4 separate regions of the Homo sapiens genome follow, and regions 1, 3 and 4 are each linked to region 2. The links are contacts of gene promoters, found by promoter capture Hi-C in blood cells and fetal thymus (Javierre and others, 2016). All regions are on one chromosome and are shown on one strand. Each heading gives the region's core, a stretch centred on a gene start or on the middle of the fragment in contact. The rest is flanking DNA. Distances are from core to core; before and after follow the strand shown.

Region 1 (7,009 bases), core at 2,981-5,480, 1.2 Mb before region 2:
CTGACCAACATGGTGAAACCTGTCTCTACTAAAAATACAAAAAAAAAAAATTAGACAGGTGTGGTAGCGCATGCCTGTAGTCCCAGACACTCAGGAGGCTGAGGCAAGAGAATCGCTTGAACCCAGGAGGCAGAGGTTGCAGTGAGCCAAGATTGTGTGACTACACTCCAGCCTCAGCCACAGAGCAAAACTCCGTCTCAAAAAAAAAAAAAGAGGATGATAAACAAATATGGCCAGAACTAGTAACTAGTAAATCTGACTAAAAGATCTACAGGAGTTCTTTTGTATTGTCCTTACGAATTTCCCTAAATTTGAAATCACTTCAAAACAAAAGTTTTCTTAAAAAAGATTTAGCCAGCCTTGTAAGTTCCTTTCAACCCTCATGATTATGTCAAAGAGAAAGTATCAGTTTGGGACTAATATATCTTTTTTTTTTTTGGAGGGGGGACTAATATATCTTTAATATGTTTCTAACACTTCTGAATCTCCTTTTAGTAAAGAGAGAGCACAGGCCTCAGGCTCAGTCTTTGGCAAGCAGCAGTTACTAGCTAGAATTTAATAACATTGTTTTATTTTCATTGTGTTTACTTTGCATTTATTTTCTACTTATGGCAAGTAGTGTAGCATTCCTTGTGTAATAAGATACAAAATTACCTTTTAAGTATATTTATCTAATTTTAAAATGAGTTAATGTAAAGAAAATATTAATATAAAAGTACAGGTAGTAGTTGGAAGGTAAACATGTGACTTTAATGACAATTGCCTGACATTTAGGAAACACTAGTCTATTCTAAAGACTTCATCTTAGAGATAGGCAAACCAGAACTCTGCAAGTTAGGTGGCTTTGCCCAAGATCACACAGTTCCTAGTGATGGAGACAGTCCATTGTCCGTTTCATAGTGATGGAGTCCATTGTCCGTTTCAGCACAGCACATTGCTGTGACTTACATCGCAAGAGTACTAAGAGCCAACCCTACAATGAGAAACACAGCTCAGAGTGGTACCAGCTATTATTTACACATGCACACACATGAAAATCAAGCAACTCGCAGCAAAGTCAAGCCTCACTGTTGGTTTAGGTCTTCAATACCGAAACAGTCTTATTTCTTCTTTTTTCACTTCCAGAGTGGCCAATGGACTGGACAATGAGTCATTCCTATGTAGCTTATATAAACAAATTCAAACCATTCTTTTTAAAAAGCACTCATAGCCAAGTGTGGTGGTGCACGCCTGCAGGCCCAGCCACTTGAGAGGCCAAGGTGGGAGGATTGCTTGAGGCCAGGAGTTTGAGACCAGCCAGGGCAACATAGCAAGACTTCCGTCTCCAAAAAATAAAAATGAAACAATTTCTGTCACCAAATTATGAAAATTCAAAAATAAAAATAAAAAAATTTTTAAAAAATGTTTAAGTAAAAAGCACTCACAATCACAGAATTCTGGAAGCTTGGAAGAATAGCTAATTCCATCTTGTAAACAGTTTGAGAAATAGTTGAGGGAAGCAAAGCTGGGCTTTTACATGTTCCAGGGCACTGGCCCTGCATCCCAGCTCTTGTGCTTACAATTCCTGGAGCTGACAGTTCAAATATTTTCCTTTTTCTCTAATGTTCTTGCTCTCTTGATGCCATTTTCTACAAATCTAAAGATTTTATTTGGTCTTCAGTGAAAAATTACAACCACTGGGGTGAGTGCTAATGGGATGTCTGATCTAGCCCTTTTGCTACTGTCAGGGACTTCAACTCGTAAACTCACTAGCAAGAGGAGAATCCACCCTGCTTAGGAGGGTGCCAGAGAAGGTCATTTTACAACTTTCAGACACTCATTCTAGCTGGCAAGACAGTTTTCCTCTTGCTAATTGAATCCGCCCAGCCAAGAGTGCATGCACGTCTCTCTTCGTTCCCTTCTCCGTGGACAGCAATGGCCTCCTGTTTTTGTAAAATAAACTTTACGTGTTTGAAGATTATTCCCGAACTTCCCCTTGACTTTTTCTCTCCAAAATGGCCTCTTCCTAGTTTTTCCATCTTCATGCAAAAATAACATCTACCAATCTACTTTTTCATCTTTGTGGCTTACCTCTGAGTTTTCATCTTACTTTTTCCTGTCACTCATAAGTTGTTGAGTCCAGAACAGAGCACAGTATTTTGAGGGCGTGTGTAGTCAGTGCAAAAATGCCCAACATCCCTGCTTCCTTGGAAGGTCCAAATGCCTTAGAGCCTGCGGGTATCTCCTGGACTCTCCAGGCCCAGGCAAATCTGTTCGGAGGCCCGTGGAGTCCTAGCATGTCTCTGATTATTCGTGTTCCATCCATACACATTTTAGGTCAGAAACGGTGGAGGAGGAACCTCAGAGACAGACCCTCTAACGTCTTAAATAGAAAGTCCAGTTTAGCACTCAGGTCACGTGGGGGCCTAGAGCAGTGGTCCCCAACGTTTTTGGCACCAGGGACTGGTTTCATGGAAGACAATTTTTCTACAGACACAGGGGAGATTGTTTCAGGATGAAACTGTTCCATCTCAGATCATCAGGCATTAGATTCTCATAAGGAGCACACAACCTAGATCCCTCACATGTGCAGTTCACAATACAGTTCATGCTCCTGTGGGAATCTAATGCCACTGCTGATCTGACAAGAGGTGGAGTTCAGGCAGTAATGCTCACTCACCCACTGCTCACCTGCTGTGTGGCCCAGTTCCTAACAGGCCACACACAGACCAGTACCAGTCCATGGCCTGGGGGTTAGTGACCCCTGATCTAGAGGACGACTAAAAGCTTAGCCAGGTCCTAAAGCCTCCACAGAAGAACAAACTAACTAATTAATTATTAGGGGAAATCAGATATACAGATCACTCTGGACCTTGCCTAACTCTTCCCAAAGTCATCCAATCATCCAAAGCTGCTGTGCAGAATGGCTTTAGGGGTACTGAGAGATCACAGAGAGACGCCCCTCTCCCCAGCATTATGGAAGAAATTGTATGCTGTGTCTAAATTTCAATTTCCTTAACACACTTGAGCTCCATTTAGCAATGCTACGTAACACTTGCCCTGCCCACCTGGCAATGGTGTGAGAATGAGTCACATAGGGTGACACTCTGAAAACTGGCAAAACCAATGGAGGACAGAGCGGGGTGGGGGCAGCAGGTCCTAAGAGCAAGCTTTGACACAGTCTGTCTCTGAGCTGACAGAACTCCTCCAGAACCCTGGATGTGTTTCTGTTCACCTGTGGCCTTGGACCTGATGTTTATGTAAGAACTCATGGAGAAGATAAATGTGAACAAGTCATTAAGGAAACTCGTGGTCTGCCGTATTTCAAAGCCATGCCCTCCCTGGCCACCACGGGCCCATGTGTGCATGAACCCACTCCTCAATACCTCCTCAACAACTGTGGTTGCACCAAGCAGTGAGTGTGGAGCAGAGCGGCAGAGTTTCAACACTGTCCTAGCCCTGGACTGTCACTGAGGTCAGCCACAGATTGGCCACCTGGGCAGGTTCAAGGACTCAGACTCAAAGCTTCCATATTCTGGCTGTGCACGGTGGCTCACACCTGTAATCCCAGCACTTTGGGAGGCTGAGGTAGGTGGATCACCTGAGGCCAGGAGTTTGAGACCAGCCTGGCCAACATGGTGAAACCCCATCTCTACTAAAAATACAAAAATTAGCCAGGCGTGGTTGTGTGTGCCTGTAATCCCAGCTACTCAGAGGCCGAGGCAGGAGAATCACTTGAACTAGAGAAGCGAGGTTGTAGTGAGCCAAGATCGCACCAGTGCACTCCAGCCTGGGTGACAGAATGAGACTCCATCTCAAAACCAAAAAAAAAAGCTTCTATATTCCCTTGGGGCTGAAAGGGTAGTTGTCAAATGGCTGCATATTGTACAATCTACCCAAATGGTGGGAAAGTTATTCTCTCAGCAGTTTTATGATGATTGCTGGAAGCCTGTGAGTTCAGACTTCTCAGCTCATATGTGGGGAAACTGAGGCCCAGAGAGGGGGTGATTGGTCCAAGGTCAGACAAGTCGTGGCAGAGCCAGGTCTGAACCTGGCCTCTCTTTCCTTGGCCATTTGGGCTCCCCTTTGGAAATTCTAGACCATCAGCCCACTAAACAGGACGAGAGAGAGTCCTCCATCTCTCTCTTTGACATCTGACAGATGGGGCATGTCAGCTGCCGTTTTCTGGTTCAGCTCAGATGGTGAAGGCAGGGGAGGGAAGTGGTTTTCTGGTTCAGCTCAGATGGCGAAGTCAGGGGAGGGAAGTGGGAGGCAGGGCTGAACGTCATGTGTGTACATTTCACTTCTTTCTTCGCATTTTGGTTACATTTAACAATGTGTTACCTCTTCACAGAGTCATTTATATCATTTGCAGGAGGCCAAGAATGACATCAACATCTATTAAAACCTAACGTTTCATGTTCTTCACTGTAAACACTCACATTGCTTTGTTTCCAGATATAAACGCAAAGTCATTCTCAAGTTGAATGGTTTCTTTCCAAGAAACTTGATGTTACTGTAATGAAATTTACCTAATTAATCTCCTTAAGGAGAGAAGGAATCTGATGATGACTGTTAATGAAGACCTCAACGTTCTTCTTGTAATCAGAGCAAGGCAATCTACAGATTCGTTGTGGGAGAGACCATAACTTTCCAAATAAATCTCAGTAAAGCTTTGCAGACAGGGCACTTGAGTTGCTTCCCCACTTGGCTGGCTTGCTTTCAGCCTCGGTGAGCCCTGTACAAACTTCTCCAGAACTCTGGATGTGTTTCTATTCACCCATGTCCTTGGACCCGATGTCTGTGTAAGAACTCATGGAAAAGGTGAACGAGTCACGGAGGAAATCCTTGGTCTGCCCTACTTCAAAGCCATCCCCTCCCTGGCCACCGTCTGCACATCGTATGCATGAACCCACTCCTCAATACCTTCTCAGTAGTTTGGTTGCACCAAGCAGTGAGTGTGGAGCAGAGCAGCAGCTACCCTTTGCCAGGGGCTTCCCTGAAGACCAGTGAAGCCATCCACACAAATGTAACCAAGAATTTCTCCTTGCAAAGGAGCAAAGTGTGTCACCAGGGTATAGGAGGCCACACTGGGATGTAAGGAGAACACTCTGTCTGTCTCCTGGTCCCGAGATCAAGCGGGCCACAGGAGAAGTGGAACCCACAGGGAGGAGCTTTGTGAGAGATACCACTCTGTAAAGATGTTGAATGAGTGCTGGCAGTTATTAACCCTGGAACTGGGGATCAAACAGATATACAGGGAATCACTGGGTGGAAGCCTGGGAAGGATGGGTCAGAACAGTGTGGCAGAGTTTGAGAAGTTATAAAGAAAGCTTAGGGATGCAGCAGGAATCCAGTTTTCAAGGCTGGGGCAGCCAGTCAAGGAGGCAAGTACCCAACAGTAACTGGATCCTCAGCCCCCGAAAACAGAGCTGAATCTGTTTAAGTCCTTACTGATTCAGGACATGAGCAGACTAGGAAGGCAGGTGGGTCTGGGTTTGCAGATGGCAAGTGGGATAAAAGATATCAAGGCAGGTAACATGCTAGACTTGACATTATTTCAGCAAACAAGGCCATAAATAGTCCCAGGAGGCCACTAGTGACCTGAGTAGACTTTTCAAGAACAGAAGCCTTCCACCACCCCTCCCCATCTTCCATCCCATCAGTGGAAAAACGTTGATTCATTCACACTTATCTTTTACATGTGTTCTTACATAGCCATCAGGTCCAAGGCCACGGGTGAATAGAAACACACCAAGAGGTTCTAGAGAAGTTTACAGGCCTTGGTATGATAACATTCTGGAGTGATTTATCCCTAAAAGTTCATGGTGGTCATTCAGTGCTATGTTGCTCCACTACCCTTTTAAGGGATCTGGAATCTGGAACTGGGCTCAGCCTTCATTATAATTGCTGGTTCTATTATTTGTGTCCCATACTAGATTGCAAGCTCCCCAAGGGCAGGAGGCAGATCGGTCTACTTCTATAGATCAATTTCTGATACAGTGCTAGCACAGAGTTAGCACTCAAGAAATATTTGATGAATGAATGAACGAATGAATGACTAATGGTGGCAGACAGAACAGCTATGCTCAAGCATCGCCTTCCTCCTTCCTCATATCACATCCCTGCCTCCAACAACTATGGGGTTGTCTGTGAGACTTGCTTTGGCCAGTAGGATACGGGGGGCCATGACGCAGGCTCGCCTGAGCAGCAACCTGAAGTGAATGCATGTGCCGTGGCTCCGCCTCTTGCACTGCTGCTCTCTGCCATGGCTGCATGCTGCTCCTGCAGCCTTTGTTCCAGAACAAGAAGATTCGAGAAGATGTGAAAAGGAGACCCAGAATTGGCCCACAGCCTGGAACAGAGCTGTAGTCCATCTGCTGCTCTTGAGTGTTGTGATGGAGACATGAGGATTTGCTCTTGGGAAACAGATTTGGGAGTTATTTGTCACCACAGTAAAAGCTCTGACCTTGGAGGAACAAGGCCTCTTCTATTCAATTTCACCCACGTGCTGGCACAGTGCCTTCAATTCCTTTGTTTTGCCAAAGCCAAAAGCAGATGGCAAAACTTGTACCACCTAGAAAGCAGCCTTTTTGCTGTCTTCTCCCAAAGAACACCCAGAGAGCTTCCTCCACCCCCGAGAAACCTAATGGTTAACTGTCAAGGGTGCTTAAAGTGAAAAGTGGTCTGACGGCAAGTTTACATATCATATTTTAAACATTTACACAGTTTTAAAATAAATGCAAGCTTGAGGCCCTCCCTTTCTTCACCTGCCAGCAAAACATGTTCTCTCCAGTTCTGCAAAAAGCCAGAGCGTTACTTGGGCACTGGAGGTAGAGTTTTATGTAGAATCTGCCAACAATCTGGTTGAAATCTCAAGGCTTTTCCCTCCACACCAGTCTTTGATTTACCTTGGGAAGAACATTGAGTATAAAAGGTGCATGGGACTTTGGGCACAAGAAAAAACAGAACAAAAGAATCCTGGAAACACTGGATCTTTTGCTCAGTTCTACTGTTACTCACTGAAGTT
Region 2 (6,406 bases), core at 2,254-4,753:
AGTAGAGACAGGGTTTCACCGTGTTAGCCAGGATGGTCTTGATCTCCTGACCTCGTGATCCGCCCACCTCAGCCTCCTGAAGTGCTGGGATTACAGGCATGAGCCACCGTGCCCGGCGGAAATAATTCATTTAAATGCAACTCAGTTTGATTTAATTTTGATTAATAGCTGAGTTGAACATCCACTTTGCAAATTCCTGAAAATTTAACAATCAGCTATCATGAGCCAGTGGGGGCACCACCCTGGATATAATGGTAATTGTGTTAGTATGGTACTAGTTATGGTAAAGATTATCACCTCTTCTGGGAAGCCTATCTGTGTTAGGTGCCTTTCTCTATATTCCTACTATAACTTTCTAGATGTCACAGCAAGTACCACACTGTGTTGGGATCTCATTTCTCTGCCTTCACACTTGATTTCCCTAAGGCCAGTGACTGTGACTGACTTTGAACTCTGTATCTTCTCTATCTAGCACTTAAGGCTCAAAAAATGTATATTGAAAACAAATTTACCTGGACCTGGCTCCTGTCCTCAAGGAGCCCACAATGATCATGTCTATGATCTACAAAAACCATAGACACAGAATACACAGTGTAGTAGGAGCTCTGAATAAACATGTGAAAGGATAATAAGGTTTTTATATTACCAACAGTGGCTTTTATTGGGATGGGAAAAAAGTGATTATAGATCATTGGAAGTAGATGTAGCAGTTCTATTGTGATAAAACAAACACATTTTTCCTTATGTCATCTATTTAATGATATTCTTTTAGTGTTCACACCTTTAACAGGTAAAAGCAACACACATTCATTATAAAACAATTAGAGTATACAGAATCATAAAGAAATAAAAGCCACCTATATTTTACAAGATTGATGTATTGATGAGGATAGGTTAAGACAATAGCATCCAGAAAGCACCAAATAACAGTGCCTTACACAAGATCCTTTTTTTCCTTTTCAAGTAAAAGTTTGGAGGTTTGCAGACCCAAGTTGGTGTGGGTTCTGCTCCTCAGTGTCTTTAGAAGCTCAATTTTCCCCAAGTTCATGGCCCAGCTGTTCCTAAGGCGTGGCCCCATTCTTCATGGTCCAGGTCAGAATCCATCCTCTCTGAAGCAGGATGGAGGATGGGATGAAGAAGAGGCACAGGGCTAATTGTCTCTTTAAGAAAGATTCCCAGCACTTGCCCTGTGGCACATCCATGACTTTCCCCTTGTTAGAAGATAGTTAGGAGACCATGTTTTGCTGCAATAGAGCCTAGGAAATACAGTCTTTATTCTCAGCAGTCATGTGCTCAGCTAAAATTTCTATTACCACGGAAGAAGGGAAAAATAGGTAGGATCAACTGTCAGAATTTGTCAGAATTATTTCCTTAAATTGCAAATAGAGGAATTTCTAGGTTAGAAGTTATGCCCATTTTCACGATTCTTGAAGCATATTGATACATTTGCCTTCAGAAGTTCTGTGCATGTTTACACTCCCAATGAGATCTATGAATGCTTTGTACTAAACACCAAGTAATCAAGTCATTCAGTGTTTCTTCTATGGCTTTGCTGTGGGCAGGATGTGATGGAGAAAAGTGTTGTGTTTGAGGGACCAGGGCTTTATTGTCAGGACTTTTTCAGCTGCAGGTGACACATGGCTTATCACGAGTACTGGAATTTATTCAAATATTTAGGATGATTTAGTATTAAGGTTGGTGCAAAAGTAAGCGTGGTGTTTGCTATTGAAGGTAATGGAATAGAAAACTAGGAATCTGAAGGTGGATAATTAAAAAATGAAGTTCTGAAGAGGAATGGGAGAGGAGGATTATATGGGTAGTTGTAAAAATTTTGAGACCTACAGAGAGAGGATGAAATGTAATATAATGCCCTCCTAATGTCAGTGAAGGGGCTTTTACACATATGTTTTTATCAATGGCTACATTCCAGGCAATACCCTAGGTGCTTTATATATATCCTTTCTTGAATTCCCACAGCCATCTGGGTAGGCATATAATTTTTATGTATCCATTTTTTACACACAATGAAGTCAAAGCTCAAGAAAGCTCAAGTTAGGGTAGAGCTAGAATTTAAACCCCACTCTGTCCGATTTCAAAGTTTTCCTCTTTCCGCTCTTACTCTTAAGTGTGAACTGATAAAAACAATTTTGGCAAGGAATTCACCTTTTCTATAGCACTTGAATTAACTGAAGGATATAAAAGACATTATGAAATCTTAAAAAATTATGAAAGAATTACAGAGAGTAACAAATGAAGTACTGTAAAGGCAAGGAAGAACCTCATGAGATTTTGTCTTTTCCAGGGGCCCTTCTCTGACCTGGGTTGGCTGCCTGCCCCTCCTTTCTCATAGTACTCTGTGTTCACCCTAAGACAGTTCTCATCTTTATTGTGATTGTCTATTTCCTTGGTCGTCTCTACTGCCAGATTATATCTTGAGTGTTAGATATTAGATTTCACACATCTTTATATTACCAGGAGCCAGCACAATGTCTGGAACAGTGTAGGTGCTCAATAAATATTTGCCAGATAAATTATACAGGCATTTATTCTATGGTCATATTTATACATATTACTGAAAGAGATTTTTAAAATCAACTTACTATATGATGCCAAATTTTTAAAGACATACAATAATAACTAGACTAATATAAAATTATGATTCTGACTATGGTTATAACAGAATGTTTATAAGACAACTGAACCTGTGACTAAGACTGAGTGCCTACAACGTGACAGGGTGTTCTGAGTGTTTAACATTTTATTATTAATTTTTCACAAAAATCTTATGAGGGAAACAATAAAATTATTATTCTTACTTAGAAAATGGAAAAACCAGGATATGAACTTAGGCAGTACTGTTGTAGAATTTTTGTGTTTAACAACTAGGCTATTTTATATCGCCATTGTTTATTAGCTGTTTATGACAAAAACAGTTTTTTTGCATGACTCCATAGTGGTATTTTTTTTTCTTTTACAAAGCACAGTTTAATTATCAAAATCAAGTACTTACTGTTTATACAAGACTATTCTCTAATCTACAGCAGTTAGTCAAATTTGTGGAATTAGTCCACTAATGTCATAGTAGCATCTTCTAATGAAAGCTCATAGATCCTTTTCCTGTTGCTTTGCTTGTCGACCGGAACTTCCTTTCCAACAAAGGAACAGGCTCCAAGAGCAACCCTCAGTATCTTGGGAAATTGCTGCTTTTATACCTGAGCAACCTCCAAACCGAAGAGTAATTTGCTATCATCATTCTTCCTTACTGCCCTTCATAACCAGGGTCTCATATTTTTTATTTTTTCTTCTAAAAAAAAAAACAAACCCAAAAAACAACCGTTCAATTGCACCTCCCAGGTGCACTCCCAGGCTTGCCAGGGGCTTTCCAGTCGCAGACCCCGCGTGTTCGCAGACTCTGCCGCCGGCGAAACTACATTTCCCAGCGGGCCGCGCGCCCTCCTTCCGGCAGGTACCCCTCAAAACCCGGAAACGCCTTGCGGGGCAGTGTGGGAGGGAGAAGTCCAGGGCGGACAGGCTGGGCGCACCCGTGCTCGCGCACCCCAAGATGGCTGAGAGGCAGGAAGAGCAGAGAGGGAGCCCGCCCTTGAGGGCGGAAGGCAAGGCCGACGCGGAGGTTAAGCTCATTCTGTACCATTGGACGCATTCCTTCAGCTCTCAAAAGGTACAACAGGCCTTGGCGGCGGAGGGTGGCGCGGATCGGGCTTCAGCACTGGGACAGCTCCTTCTGAGTCCCGCCCAGGGAAGCCGGTCCACCTAGAAATCCGCCTCCAGTGTCCTGACCCCGGGCAGGCGCTCCCTCCAGGCGGGGACGCGCCCGGGTGGGGAGCGGGGAGAATCGATCGGAGATGATCCTATGTGGCTATGGCCCAGGCTCCGCCTCTCGCGAAATGCGACAAAAAAGCATCATTTTCAGTATTTGGTCTGGAGGCCTTGCCTGCTGGTCTTCGGAGAGAGGCAGAGGGAGGTGCCTTTGTGGACCCTCATAATCTGCGATCTCTTCTTTTGCTCTCTCGCATTCACTGTCTTCAGCAAGAGCTGATGTACCTACATGTCAGGTTCTTGTCTGGGGAGGACCCATAATCAGGTTTAGGACACCGAGAAAGTGGTAGTGATGAGGAGGGTGACTGTTTAATGAATACAGTCAGAATCATTTCATTACTTATTTTGTGTTCTTCTCTTAATTTGTTGAGTATTGTTCTTTCCTTACTTGTTAATTCCAGGAATAGGAATTGTTAAAACGACTGTTGAAAATGTCGGTAACACAGGGAAGCCCAGAAAGGCTGCTTAGCGGTGTCCAGGGAAGTCATTTAATTGAAAGCTTACATGTGTTGTAGTAACCAGTGTGAACTCTTCCAGGTGCGCTTGGTAATTGCTGAAAAGGCATTGAAGTGCGAGGAACATGATGTAAGTCTGCCCTTGAGTGAGCACAATGAGCCTTGGTTTATGCGTTTGAACTCAACTGGAGAAGTGCCTGTCCTTATCCACGGGGAAAACATAATTTGTGAGGCCACTCAGATCATTGATTATCTTGAACAGACTTTCCTGGATGGTAATGTTAAGGCTACTTGCGATTTCTTGGATTTACTTTCAACACAACTATGTGTTCCCTTTCTCTTTTTCTCTCTCTCCTCTCTCTCTTTCTCTTGTGTCATGATGGTGGTTTGGGATTAAAAACCTTTTCCATTTCCATAAGCACACAAATATCAAATAGGTCAATAACAAATTTTGTATAGGCTAGTGTAATGCTATTTAAAATAATTTAATGCAAAATACAAATGTTAATGTTGAAACTTAAAAAAATTCACTTGCAAAAAACTGCAAATGTGTGGTTTGTGTTGGTGATTTCTTAGTCTTAAATTCATAATATTCTAAATGTGCACTGTGACGATTTCATCTAATATACCAAATGGTTTCACCTTAAAAACAAGAGGGAAAAAAGAGCAATAAATCTTAAAGGAGAATAGAATGTTAGTATACCTGAGTTCTTTGCCCCAGTCACTTCTGAATTGTTTGAATTTTATATCTTTACTAAGGAATTATAGGGCTTAAATTTGTATAGTGCATTTAGGTAAATCATTTATTAACAGCTTGTTATGTGTCAGACATTTTATAATTTCTTCAATAATGTCTTCAAAAGTATCTGTCTGAGACAGGCATGGTAGACAAGTTATTCCCATTATGTAAATGAGGAGAAAGCAACAGGGTTGCCCAAAGTAATATAGCTATTGTATGGCAGAGTCTTTGGTCTCCAAAGCCTTCATACTACACTGACTGTCTCCCATAATCCTTGCCACTTACACATTGTCTTGCTTGTTCCTAATAATAATCCTTTGAAGTGAACTGTAGCTTCAAAGAGTTACCAAAGACTACACAGCTGATCACAATGGACATTGATGAGAGCAGAACATGGTGCTCAGAGCTTCCAGCTGAATGCTCTTCTAAAAAGGCTGTATGAGATTGTTACTTTTCATCTGCCACCAGTTATGTTGATGTTAATAGGGTAGGTGAAAGCAGAACCTAGCCCCAAACTACAGGAAGCTGACAAAGGAAATTACTAGGACAAAAAAAAGTCTCATGTACTTAGAAGGAAAATGAGTATTATTAGGCCTAGATGGTGGGCAGTGGCGAGGGGGAAGCCCAGGGAATTAGATTAGCAATGGGCTACCCCTGTTCTTAATCTAAGTGCTAGTCCCCTAGGATTGTGATTGGCGGTTTTAATTAAAGGTAGCTTTAGCGTAAACCAAAGCATTTAATGATGTACTTTCTTTTCATCTTTATTTGCTATTCCTTATAAATTTATATGCTGGGGACTGTACTGAAAATGACAACTAGTTCATTTAAGAGAATTTTTCTCAATCTTGAGCTTTTTGGAAATGGATAAGTGTGTTAATTTGTATTTCTTGGGGGATGTAATTATAATGGAACAAAACAAAATAATTGTGTTAATAAATCTATTTTAAATGATCAAAAACTTTAAAAAGGTATTCTAAATGGAAAATCCCATTTAAGTTTTTTGGTAGCATTGCCTGAACTGCTTCTACTATCATCATTCCCCTCCTCCATCCCCTCCTTACACTGTTTTTCCTCTAAGAAATTCAGTGATATAAATTATATTTACAACATAGTAATGTTACCAATTATTAGGTTTTCTTACAATTTTCCTTAGTCTTTCTCTTTTGCTTTTAGTACAGAATAGTAACAAAGCAGAAATAAGTTCTGTGTCCTGCTAAGTTGTATTTAAATAACCAAACAAAGGAAATGCTAAGTTCTTTTGATTACTTAAGAATTAGAAGAGAAGGCACTGTAGGCTGTGACAGGATGGAAATATGGAAAGTGCAGACTTTAATTCTGGTTGAACTATTATTGTAACTCAGCAATCAAGAGTCCT
Region 3 (6,349 bases), core at 2,442-4,941, 1.3 Mb before region 2:
AAGAATAATTTATCATGCTGTGTGTGACATCCTAAGTCATTAAATGGGAGGATCTGGCAGCCCTGCTTCATACACCCACGCACTTATCTACAAAAGTTGATATGCAAGAGAGCTTCTGGCTTTAAGTATTTAGCAGAAAGAGGAGATGGATCTCCAGCCGTAAGGAACAGAGACGAGGAACATGAACTCTGGCTAATGTCTACTCCCCTTGGGGAGGCCTTATTGGGAGAAAAGAGAATAATGTGTGTCAGGCCTCTGAGCCCAAGCTAAGCCATCATATCCCCTGTGACCTGCACGTATACATCCAGATGGCCTGTTCCTTGCCTTAACTGATGACATTCCACCACAAAAGAAGCGAAAATGGCCGGTCCTTGCCTTAACTGATGACATTCCACCACAAAAGAAGTGAAAATGGCCAGTCCTTGCCTTAAGTGATGACATTATCTTGTGAAGTTCCTTCTCCTGGCTCATCCTAGCTCAAAAGCTCCCCTACTGAGCACCTTGTGACCCCCACTCCTGCCCACCAGAGAACAACACCCCTTTGACTGTAATTTTCCTTTACCTACCCAAATCTTATAAAACGGCCCTACCCTATCTGCCTTCGCTGACTCTCTTTTTGGACTCAGCCCGCCTGCACCCAGGTGATTAAAAACCTTTATTGATCACACAAAGCCTGTTTGGTGGTCTCTTCACACAGACGTGAGTGAAAATGTGGAATCTGAGTGTCTGGTTTCAAGTTGTGTGTCCCTAACTTGCTAACTAGCTTTCTCACTTTCCAACCTCAGGTGATTTAATAACCCTCTCTGTGCTGCAGGTTCATCCTTTACAAAATTATAAGATAATAGTAATATCTACCTGATAAACTTGCTATGAAGATTAAATGAGTTAATACATATGGTACAGTTAGAAAGTTGCTGTCACCTGGCCGGGCGCGGTGGCTCACGCCTGTAATCCCGGCACTTTGGGAGGCCAAGGTGGGAGGATCACCTGAGGTTGGGAGTTTGAGACCAGCCTGACCAACATGGAGAAAACCCATCTTTACTAAGAATACAAAATTAGCTAGGCGTGGTGGCACATGCCTGTAATCCCAGCTACTTGGGAGCCTAAGGCAGGAGAATCCCTTGAACCCGGGAGGTGAAGGTTGTGGTGAGCCGAGATCACGCCATTGCACTCCAGCCTGGGCAACAAGAGTGAAACTCTGTCTCAAAAAAAAAAAAAAAAAAAAAAAAGAGAGAGAGAGAGAAAGTTGCTGGCAACTATTATACATGCAATAAATGCTAAGTATGCAGTATGGTCTGAATTGTGGTGTCACCCTCAAATTCATATGTTGGAACAGAATATCCAGCATGATATATTAAGAGTTAGGGCAGGCTGGGTGCTGTGGCTCACGCCTGTAATCCCAGCACTTTGGGAGGCCAAGGCAGGTGGATCACGAGGTCAGGAGATCAAGACAATCCTGGCTAACACGGTGAAACCCCATCTCTACTAAAAATACAAACAAATCAGCCGGGTGTGGTGGTGGGCACCTGTAGTCCCAGCTACTCGGGAGGCTGAGGCAGGAGAATGGCATGAACCTGAGAGGCAGAGCTTGCAGTGATCTGAGATTATGCCACTGCACTCCAGCCTGGGCAACAGAGCAAGACTCTGTCTCCAAAAAAAAAAGAGTTAGAGCCTTTTGGGAACTGATTAAGTCATGAGAACATCACCCTTGTATATGGAATTAGTGTCCTTATAAAAGAGGTTGGGCTGGGTACAGTGGCTCATTTCTATAATCCCAGCAATTGGGGAGGCTGAGGAAGTAGGGTCACTCGAGCCCAGGAGTTTGTGACCAGCCTAGGAAACATAGCAAGACCCTGGTCTATTCAAAAAAAGAAAAAAAAAAAAAGTCGAAGGGAACTCCTGCCTTGCCCCTTCTGCCAATTAAAAACACAAAAAGAAAATACCATCTTCGAAAAACAGAACAGGCTGTCACCAACACCTCAACAATCAGTGCCTTGATCTTAGACTTTCCAGCCTCCAGAACTTTGAGCAATACATTTTTATTGTTTATAAATGTCCCAGTCTGTGGCATTTTGTTATAGCAGCTCAATTAGACTAAAACAGTGTGGTTGATATGATCATTATCATTATCATCATTAGTATCTGTCTCAGAGGACTTGGTCTGCCCTCCTATTGGGAAAGGGGGCAAAGATAGAAACTGAAGGTTCTGTTTTTTGTGGATAAACAGCAAATCTGAGAGTACTATTGAGTTCTTAATAGCTGATGTTTTCAAATCTATAAGGAATTTCATTGATAAAAATGTTTTCTACTCTTTGAGTATCAATTTTCTTCTAGCCATGTCTAAGAAAAATGTAACAGATTCATTCAATATCAACTGAATGTCCACCACATGATAAGCAGTTTTCTAGCCATGGGGATACGGTAGTAGACAACACAGACAAAAATGCCTTCCTTAGCGTATCTTGTTTTTTAATGAGACTGACAAAGAGAAAACTAAAATACCATCAGTTAGTGAAACATGCTATGTAGAGTACTGCAGATAGAAAATATTTAAATAGTCAAAGAAAGTATCTCTGAAGAAAGGTGACATTTGAATGAAATGGGTTGGCAGGGAGCAATACAAATATTGGAGAAAACAATCAAGTCAAAGCAAGTGCAACGACCCTGGAACAGGAACAAGCTTAACCTATTTGAGGAATAGCAAGAAGGCCAGAATGGCTATAGCAGTGGTGGCAACAGACAGAATTTTTAATAGATATGGTTAAAAACTAGGTAGGGAAAATATCACGTAAGGCCCTGTAGTCTTTAATAAAGAGTTTGGGTTTTATTCTAAAAATGATCACATATCATGGTAGGTTTTGAGGAGGCGAATGACAAGTTGTGATTTACATTTTAGAAAGGCCATTCAGATTATTGTGCAAAAAATCGCTGGGTGCAGTGGCTCATGCCTATAATCCTAGCACTTTGGGAGGCCAAGGTGGATGGATCACCTGAGGTCAGGAGTTCGAGACCAGCCTGGCCAACATGGTGAAACCCCCATCTCTACTAAAAATACAAAAATTAGCCAGGTGTGGTGGCAGGTGCCTGTAATCCCAGCTACTTGGGAGGCTGAGGCAGGAGAATTGCTTGAACCCAAGAGGTAGAGGTTGTAGTGAGCCGAGACTGTGCCACTGCACTCCAGCCTGGGTGACAGAGCAAGACTCTGGCTCAAAAAAAAAAAAAAAAAAAAAAAAAAAAAGACCATGTCAGGGCAAGAGTGGAAGCAAGGAGAGCTATTGTGAGGCTACTATGTGGGCCATATGAGACATGAGGGTCACTTGGCTGAGGGTGGAGATGCAGATCATGGTAAATAGTCAGATTATGGATCTATTTTGAAGGTAGAGCTGACCAAAGCTGTTGAAGGACTAGATCTGATGTGTGAAATAAAAAAAGGAATCAAAGATGAAATTTGTGTCTTTGGCCCAATTAATTGGCTAAGTGAATGGCAGTGCCATTGACTGTGATGGGAAAGATGAGGTAAGGTCTAGTTCAGTGGTGTCCAATCATTTTGCTTCCCTGGGCCACATTGGAAGAAGAATTGTCTTGGGCCACACATAAAATACAGTAACACTAACAATAGCTGATGAGCTTTAAAAAACACAAAATAATCTCATATGTTTTAATAAGGTTTATGAATTTGTTGGGCCGCACTCAAAGCTGTCCTGGGCTGCATGCCACCCACAGGCCATGAGTTGGACAAGCGTGGTCTAGTTTGATGGGGTATGGGTTATATTTGGACTTGTCAATTTAGATGCACAAAAATCCAAGCAGTGATGTGGGGGTGCTCAGCAGAAATTTTAGAGAGGGAGGTTTATGTTTGGGTCTCAACAGGATCTAGATGATATTAAACAGAGAGAATAGATAAGATCAACTAGGGAATGAAGTTCAAAGGCTGAGGTTAAGGACACTACAACATTTAGAGTTTAGCAAGAAGAGATATAGTCAGCAAGGAATACTAAGAAGTGGCTAGTGAGGTGTGAAGAATACCAGCAAAGGATGTTATCCTGTAAGTCAAATAAAGAAAACGCATCCAGGAGGAGGGCATGATCAAATGGGTCAAGTGATCTGAGTCTTCTATAATCTTTAGATATCATGGAATAAACTTAATAACTGTTAGCTGCATATATTTGCCTGGTAGTTTACAGCAGCATTTCTCAAATTGTGTTTGTTGCTATTGAAGGAAATCAAAATATTTTACCCCAAAATATATTTCTTTGACATATTTTGAAATGGCTGCCACCTGGCCAGCAAATAGAAGTGGCCTTGCAAAGCTGTCTTTTGTGGGGAAAATATGCATCTGTAGAGAATTTCCATTAATGCCGCCATGCCCCCTCCCCTTTCTATGCCTTTCTTGAATCCAGGAGAGGCTGAGTGTTTGACCGTTTTAAAAGTCTGAAAAGAAACATTTACCATCTATTCTCTCCAAGGGAGGTTTCATTTACATAACAAGGCCACCTTTGCTAGCCAAGATTGTTACTTTCTCCCTCATCACCTGCTGATTTATCAACATAACCTGTTTCTGGCCACCCTCTGAGTCTGTATTCTTTACTGTGGCTCAGGATGTTGGGTCTTCATTCTTAAGGCTCCCATGTACACACATTAAATAAATTTGTATGCCTTTTCTTCTGTTAATCAGTCTGCCTTACATTAGTGATTTTTCAGTGAAGCTTTCAGTGGTCAAGAACCTATGGTTCCCGGAGTACGATAATTATATAGGATGTTCTGCAAAAAAAGGAGTGCAGTGATCAATTATGGGACATGTTTCACTCAGAAATTCATGATCCACATTAGTGTATTTAAAGCTCTGAGAAGTCCATAGAAAAGAAAACTTCTACCTTTTAAAAACAGGAATCCCCCAAATTGTTTTTTCTTAAAAATCAGATTGAGGATAACCTACAAGCAGGAAAATCCAACCATTTTAGGGGTACAATTCTGAGTTTTTACACAATCACATAACCACCCCTGCAATCCCAATTGTTTTTAAGTCACAAATCATGCCATCTATCAATGGCTCTAGTTCCACTTTAAAAATGACTGTTGCCAGTTTACAGAGCACTTTCGGATGTATTTTTCCATTTAACTCTGATGTCAATCCTCTGAGTTTGGAACCATTATTTCCAATGAGACAGATAAAGAAAGAGGCATAGAGAGGTAAAGAATCATCCCCACAATCACACAAAGCTACTCAGTGAAAGAGGTAGATTAAATGCAAACATTCAGATGAGTTAGATTTTCACTTGGTATAGTGGAAAGATAACACTGGATAAGACTATCAACAACCACAACTATTCATTGAGTCCTTCAACCACCAAACACCTCTTTAAAGTAGGTGTTGTTATTCTTACCTTACAAATAAGAACATAGGAGTAAAGTGTCTAATCGATTTGCTCAAGGGTAAAGAGAAATTGGTGGAGAAAGAATTCAAACCTAGGCTGGGCACGGTGGCTCATGCCTGTAATCCTAGCACTTTGGGAGGCTGAGGCAGGAGGATCACTTGAGGTCAGGAGTTCGAGACCAGCATGGTCAACACGGTGAAACCCTGTCTCTACTAAAAATACAAAAATTAGCCCGGCGTGGTGGGGGCCCCTATAATCCCAGCTACTTGGGAGGCCAAGGCAGAAGAATCAGTTGAACCGGGAGGTGGAGTTTGCAGTGAGCCAAGATGGTGCCACTGCACTCCAATCTGGGCAACAGAACAAGACTAATCAAGAAAGAAAAGAAAACAAAAGAAAAAAAGAGAAGAGAAAAGAAGAAAGAGAGAGGGAGGGAGAGAGGGAGGGAGACGGGGAAGGAAAGGAGGGAGGGAGGGAGGAAGGAGGGAAAGAAAGAGAGAAAGAAAGAAAGAAAAGAAAAAAGAAAGAAAGAGAAAGCGAGAAAGAAAGAAAGAAAAATTCATATCTAGAACTCTGACTCCAGAGCCTGAAATCCTAACTGCATGGGATTGTGCTGTCCAGTATGATAGCTACCAGTCATACTTGGCTATTTGAGCACCTGAAATGTGGCTACTCCAAACTGAGATGTGTGTAAGTGTAAGATACACACAGGATTTTGAAAACTGTTTTTTTAAGTAAAATATCCAAGTTTTAAAATTACATGTTGAAATAATAGTTGGAATATATTTATAAGATTAAAATTAACTTCACCTGTTTCTTTCTATGCTTTTTAATGTGGCTCCTAGAAAATTAAAAATTACATATATGTGGTTCGTATGCTGCTTCAAAAAGTAGAGGCTGTTCATGGTTTTCTTTCTTAGGGCTGTCAAGGTCAAGGCGCTTCCTGTTATTTCTCTATTCAAGGGTAGAAAACATCA
Region 4 (6,383 bases), core at 164-2,663, 1.0 Mb before region 2:
TGTCAAGCAGTGTCAAGGACAGAATATGCTGTGCTATCTCAAATGTCATCTACCAGACTGTTGAGGGCAAGAGTAATTAGAAAAGAAAACTAGTCAGGTTACTTGGGAAAATTCCTGAAAATGTGATGCTTTCTAGTCACCCAACTATAGCATTTTTCTTGCAAAGTATGGAATAGAATTCATGTTGATCAAAGTTTATTTAATAATGCGCCCCAGACATAAGGCAGGAGTTTGGAGTAATTGCTCGCCTCTATTCAGGCAGCAAAGGAAATGATTAACAGCCTTCGTGCTCAGTCACGTGTACTGGGCTCCAGCGGGAACCTGAGCACAGGCTTAAAAGAAACCCGAGTGGTCCTGATGTGGGTGCTCCTACCCCAAGCCTGCCTTTGCCCGACACAGAGCAGAGCTGAGTAAATGTTTGACACCAGCTTTAGAAACAAGCCGTCTGGGATCTCAGGCTGATTAGCGGCCCTGGATAGCTTTCTTCACCTCTCAGTTCCCTCCGCGCAGCTCTTTGGTGGTTGTTGACGCTGTGAGTGATTGTTATAGTAATTGCAGTGTTGCCTGTAATTAATGAGCCTTTCAAATAAAAAATATGGATCTTTGTCTTAAAAATGTGGAAAATGCAAAGATACATTGGATTTAATTTATACAGAAGGCCAGATTTGTCCTTGATTAGGCAAAGAAATCACATGTTTTAAACTGAACATTGACTCACCTGTGCTTTACAGAACAAAACAAATAATCTCCCTCTCAAAAGAAAGCTTCATATTACAACCAGCCAGCATGTGTCGTACTTTACTCTTTAAAATTGGAATATATTTCTCCAAATGTTTATAGCCCACAGTTGGAAAAGATTTTTTTCACATAGCCATATCTGGATTGTTTGGTTTCTCTTTCTCTCTCCCTTCCTCTCCCCACCGGCCTCCTCTCTCTCTCTCTCCCCCCACCGGCCTCCTCTCTCTCTCTCTCCCCCCACCGGCCTCCTCTCTCTCTCTCTCCCCCCACCGGCCTCCTCTCTCTCTCTCTCCCCCCACCGGCCTCCTCTCTCTCTCCCCCTCGCCCTTTTTTGCTTCCTTTTCCTTTAAACCACTAGCTTAACTCCTCTTCAGACAATTTGGGGGTGGGGGGAGGGTCCCACAGGTGGAAGTGTGTCCCCACGTCACATTTTTTAGAATATGCAGCCATACTACCCTCCTTATGGACAAACTGGAACTATTTTATTTAATTTAATACCACCAGATTCATTTCAGGGCAAGAAGGGGAGGGGATATTAATCAGTTTCAGAACGTTGCAACAAATTACACTTAAAGAACAGTTAGGAACTTGTTAATCTTCTGTCACCTACCTTGATGTGGTGCTGGGGATCTGGATTAGTCATTTAATACCTGCAGGCAAGACCAGAGCACGTGAATACAGGGAAGTCATTACAGCCAACCTGCTATGGTGTCTGAGTTTCTAGTCAGAGCCAGCCGCTGGCTGGAGTTAGAGTGGACACGTGAGTGAGTGATTCAGATTTGTCAGGTAACCAAGTAGCAGGTTCTGATAGGAATTTGATATTGGATGTAATTTCTTAGGATTTAATATTGAGTCCTTATACTTTAACTTTTATACAGAAAGATAACTAAGACCCTTTATGTTAAGTTTATTGCTGTCTTCCAAGACTAGGCAAATTTTCAAAACTTAAAAATGATCTCTGGTTAACGTCAATAATATGTTTTATACTTTTTGGCTAATCTGGGAACAATTAATCATAACTAGATACTTTTAAAAGACATATAGGCTTGATTACTTAGGGATATGTTTTCTAGTTGTTTGAGGCAGGGTCTCGCTCTGTCGCCTAGGCTGGGGTGCCATAACACAATCACGGCTCACTGTAGCCTCGACCTCCTGGGCTCAAGCGATCTGTCTACCCCAGCCTCCCAAGTAGTTGAGACTACAGGCACACACCACTATGCCCGGCTAATTTTTTGTATTTTTTGTAGAGGCAGCGTTTCACAGTGTTTCCTAGGGTGGTCTTGAACTCCTGGGCTCAAGTGATCCTCCCGCCTTAACCTCCCCCAAAGCTTGGGGATTACAAGTGTGAGCCACTGTGCCCAGCTGTTTTCTAGTTTAGATTGGAATATATAAATTCCATTGTGATGTTACTTTATTTCAATTCTGTGATATAATACCCATGTATAAATTATAGAGCCTAAAGTTGAACCCATAATAACCTGAAGTACCAGTTTTTGACTTTTTCTGGTAACAGATCAAAATAATAATTACTGTCATAATTACTCTTTCTGTTTTTACTACTACAAAGAAATACAATCAAGCTGAAACATGTGTCTCTCTTCCTCAGCAGTGTACTTGGGCAATGCAGTAATGAGAAGTGTGTTCACTTGCTGTATTAGTCTGTTCTCATACTGCCATACAGAAATACGTGAGACTGGGTAATTTACAAAGAAAAGAAGTCTAATTGGCTCACGGTTCTGCAGGCTGTACAGGAAGCATAGAGGCTTCTACTCCATTTCTGGGGAAGACTCAGGGAGCTTTCAGTCATGGTAGAAGGCAAAGAGGGTGCAGCAATAAACACGGCAGAAGCAGGAGGAAGCGAGGGGGTGGGGGCTGCACACGTTTAAACAACCCGATCTCGCAAGAACTCACTCATCACTAGAGCAGCACCAGGAGATGGTGCTGAACCATACATGAAAAATCACTCCCATGATCCAGTCACCTCCCACCAGGCCATACCTCTGACATTGAGGATTATAGTTGACCTGAGATTTGGGTGGGGGCACAGATCCAAACCGTATCACTAGCTCTCCTCCACAGTGCCTGTCTCAGTGTAGCAAGGTAATTCTCCCTTAATATTTGGAAGATTGATCTGGGTCTTCCAGCTTAGTCTGGGACAGTCAGACAAATAAGTATAAGACAATCAAAATCAAAGCACTATAAAACACATAATCGCATTAAGGTAAATGGTACTGACTATAGGTCTTAGAGAAATGTAGACAAAGTCAGGCTGGCCTAGAATAATATTAGATAAAGGTTTAACACCCTAACTACCTTCAGTAAAGAATTATTAGGGGGCTCCAGTGACATAAAGCGCTTTGAAAAGCATGAGAGACTATATAAATATGTGATGAATATTACACTTTGATTTACACACGAAGGGTCTGGGATAGATTATCAGAAGAGTTCATGGGTCAAATGCCACAGGTGAGAATAAGCATTTCATGGGTACTGATGAGGAAACTCAAACAGGGTGTGAGTTGGGAGTGGGGTACTACATGATGACTGGGGAAGACCTTGGGATACTTCACAAAAATTCATGTGGCACCTGTATGAATAATTGGTGGGAGCACAGAAAAACATCAGAATTAAGGGAATTGCTGTTTTCAATCTTTACACACAAAAATTATAACAAATTAGATAAGGCCAAGGGCAGTGGCTCACGCCTGTAATCCCAGCACTTTAGGAGGCCGAGATGGGAGGATCACTTGAGCCCAGGAGTTCAAGACTGGCCTGGGCAACATAATGAGACCCCTTCTCTACAAAAAATTAAAAATTAGCTGGGCATGGTGACGTGCGCCTGTAGTCCCAGCTACTCGGCAGGCTGAGGCAGAAGGATCACTTGAGCCCAGGAGTTCGAGGCTGCAGTGAGCTATGATTATGCCATTGCACTCCAACCTGGGCAACACCGCAAAACCCTGTCCCCCACCCCCGCCCAAAAAAAAAAAACCACAAACCCATATTAGGTATTCATGCAAAAACTCAGTGATACCGTAGCCAGCAAATCCTCTGAGAAGGGAATGCAGCTCTTCCTTAAGTCTGCTTTGTAGTGTTTGGTTGTGTGGGTTTTTTTAACTTCATAAATCATGGGAAGCTGTGCTGGCAGTAGGAGATAACTCAGCAGTAGACAGATTGCTCTTCGCTGCTTTCTTTTAAGAAGCAGGTTATAAAACTGTTGGGAGCCTGGTGGAGTAGTTAATAGATCATCGTAAGCAATTTGAAGTAATTTTTTTTTTTTTGATACAGCCTTGCATTTTGAAGGCAAGCGAGCTAGAGAGAAAAGAGTTTAGTGAGTAAGAAATCGGCGCCACCTCTGATTTTGTGCCACCTCTGGCACAAGTTTCAGGGCCTCTGGGTCCCCCAGCCTGGAACTTGTGCCACACTCTCTGCCTCACTGTGTGGCCAGTCACTTGCATCTGTGGCAGAGTCCCTGCGGTGAAACCCATGTTGGAATGTGACTGTTCAGAATGATACACGTTCTTGTCAGTGCATAGTTGGCATTATGATATGTTTTTCACAAAAATAGTTCTATAATTTAGCCTGTTTTTTACATCCTAAAATACTTTGTCTCCTGCTAGTACATTTTGGTAATAAGCCTTGGGATCCCAGAGCATGCTGCTGGAGTATCTCTTCATTGATAGGTCTATTACTACGTAGACATCGCCGTAAGGCACACATTAATACAAGGCAATGTTTGTAGTAGGCTGTGGTCCCTCCTAAACCATGAGATAGCTGCATTGAAGTGTCACGAGCAGAAACAAATACCTGGCTTGGGAGTACTTTAAATTAGCAGATAACTGTCACTTGAAAGGTAATTAAGAAGCTTCTGCCAATGGCTCTCTTTTTATCTCTAGACACTGTCCCCAAAAGCTTTTAAGTTACAGTCTTGTTGGTCACGACTTATAATAGGCCTGCCATGCCGATGATACAGTGCTAAGTTAGCCAGACACTTAAAAGATCTTTTTGATAAATATAAAATATTTTTAAAGGAATTGGGAAACAAAACATCATGTGAATAAAAGTTTGTTTTGTGATCCTGGACTGGGTTTTAGATGAAATTCATGAAATCAGTTCTAAAACTTGAATCTTACTTTGTTTCAGACCACTAAGGCTTTTCTTCCTACGATGCTGGAGATTAATCATGGTCATATTGTGACAGTTGCAAGTTCCTTGGGATTGTTCAGTACTGCCGGAGTTGAGGTTTGTCAGATATATAGCATTTCTTTCGTTCAATCTGTTTATCCTGTGATAAGTACACCAGAACCTCCAGGAGAGCACCTGCTGCCCCTCCATTCATGAAAGCTGCACGAAGGCACTCTGCATGTGTGCTGCATGTAGAATGTTCCACAGGAACCCAGGGCCAGCCACTGGAATGGAATTCTATGTCAGGTGTGGTGGCGCACACCTGTAGTCCTAGCTACTTGAGAGGCTGAGGTGGGAGAATCGTGCGAGCCCAGGTGTTCAAGACTGCAGTGAGCTATGGTGGCACCACTGCACTTCAGCCTGGGAGATAGAGCAAGACCCTGTCTCTAAAACAAAACAAAGAAAGGGAATGGACTTCTGCCTCTTCTGCCATAAAATCTCTTACACTAGTTTGACAAAGCAGCAGCGACAAGAAAAGTAGATGGGCCAGCCCTCAGTGTGCCCATTTTCATTAGCAGCTTCACTTGACGATGGCAGGAGGCACAGGGCCAAGAATGGAACCATGGAAAGCTGTGGGGAACAGAAGAATGAGGCCAGAGGTTCACATTCGGTTGTGGTCACCTTGCCAAAACTGAGCTATCTTGTATTAATTAGCCCATCAGATGAGGCGGTCAGGTATCCTGCATTGTAAGTTTGTAGAATTGTAGAACTGGATTTCATCAAACCCTGTTCTTCACGATATTCAGATTATAAAGTATGAGTATATATGTTGTTCTATCCTGTTTGTCCTCTGCATGCCTGTAAAACTGAAAACATCACTCCATGCAAATATGCAAAAGGACACATTATTTAAATAGCACCTATATCAAGGGATTCCATTTCTGAAGTTGGGCCATGGACAATAACTTTTTTTCTATATTCTGTGCCTTTAGGTTAAGTTCTAGTTTAAGATTACAAGGCATGATTATCATTTTCATTTTAACTTCGCCTTACAAAGAAAGTCAAATCATAACAATTTATAGCCTAAGCTAGATTTGCCTTTATTCTTCTTGCATTAATTTAAACAAACTGGTTTTTCTTTCTCCTTTACTGAACAAGAGACCATTTGTAAATTTTCCAGACACTTCAAAGTGAACCTCTCTCCATTTTAACTTCAGCTTGTGAGCTTTCATAGAATCCTTTATGGTAACTTCCCCAAAGTAATATGATACTTAGTTGATGTGACAAAAAGTATTCATCTGTTTCTGCTGTTGCTTTGAAAATATTATTTCTGCACTGAACCACATCAGGTATCTGGTTTGTGTTTTTTTTTTGTTTTTGTTTTTGTTTTTGTTTTTGTTTTTTTTTTTTTGAGACAGAGTCTCACTCTGTCACCCAGGCTGGAGTGCAGTGGTGTGATCTTGGCTCACTGCAACCTCCACCTCCCAGGTTCAAGCAATTCTCCTGCCTCAGCCTCCTGAGTA

Evidence for each region. Contacts are between HindIII fragments. The CHiCAGO score rates a contact against its expected background, and 5 or more counts as called.
Region 1: a contact is called between a fragment that was not itself captured here and the fragment with the promoter of GDAP1 in region 2, in 2 of 17 cell types (naive B cells and total B cells). The highest score is 6.6, in naive B cells.
Region 3: a fragment that was not itself captured here is called in contact with the fragment with the promoter of GDAP1 in region 2 in 2 of 17 cell types (activated CD4 T cells and naive CD8 T cells); the score reaches 6.0 in activated CD4 T cells.
Region 4: a fragment that was not itself captured here is called in contact with the fragment with the promoter of GDAP1 in region 2 in 2 of 17 cell types (fetal thymus and naive CD8 T cells); the score reaches 5.2 in fetal thymus.

The regions. Positions count from the first base shown.
Region 1 is chr8:73,164,342-73,171,350 of GRCh38, forward strand. All of the region lies in intron 2 of LOC107986891 (a long non-coding RNA gene), which reads right to left. Among named protein-coding and RNA genes, the nearest start is that of SBSPON, 75 kb to the left of the region's middle. The HindIII fragment of the contact is 839 bases long and covers 3,812-4,650 here.
Region 2 is chr8:74,346,900-74,353,305 of GRCh38, forward strand. GDAP1 (ganglioside induced differentiation associated protein 1) reads left to right here and starts at 3,504. Exons shown (of 6, transcript NM_018972.4): 1 at 3,504-3,679; 2 at 4,375-4,567. The coding sequence starts at 3,563. RefSeq lists an enhancer at 3,517-3,746. The HindIII fragment of the contact is 8,708 bases long and covers 1-4,334 here.
Region 3 is chr8:72,997,619-73,003,967 of GRCh38, forward strand. No RefSeq gene overlaps it. Among named protein-coding and RNA genes, the nearest start is that of TERF1, 8.1 kb to the right of the region's middle. RefSeq lists enhancers at 1-70, 2,931-3,475, 3,476-4,018, 4,019-4,562, 4,563-5,105 and 1 more. The HindIII fragment of the contact is 2,026 bases long and covers 2,679-4,704 here.
Region 4 is chr8:73,314,218-73,320,600 of GRCh38, forward strand. It overlaps RDH10 (retinol dehydrogenase 10), which reads left to right. Exons shown (of 6, transcript NM_172037.5): 3 at 4,879-4,977. It overlaps RDH10-AS1 (RDH10 antisense RNA 1), which reads right to left. Exons shown (of 6, transcript NR_125388.1): 5 at 1,349-1,388. Among named protein-coding and RNA genes, the nearest start is that of RDH10, 23 kb to the left of the region's middle. The HindIII fragment of the contact is 1,302 bases long and covers 763-2,064 here.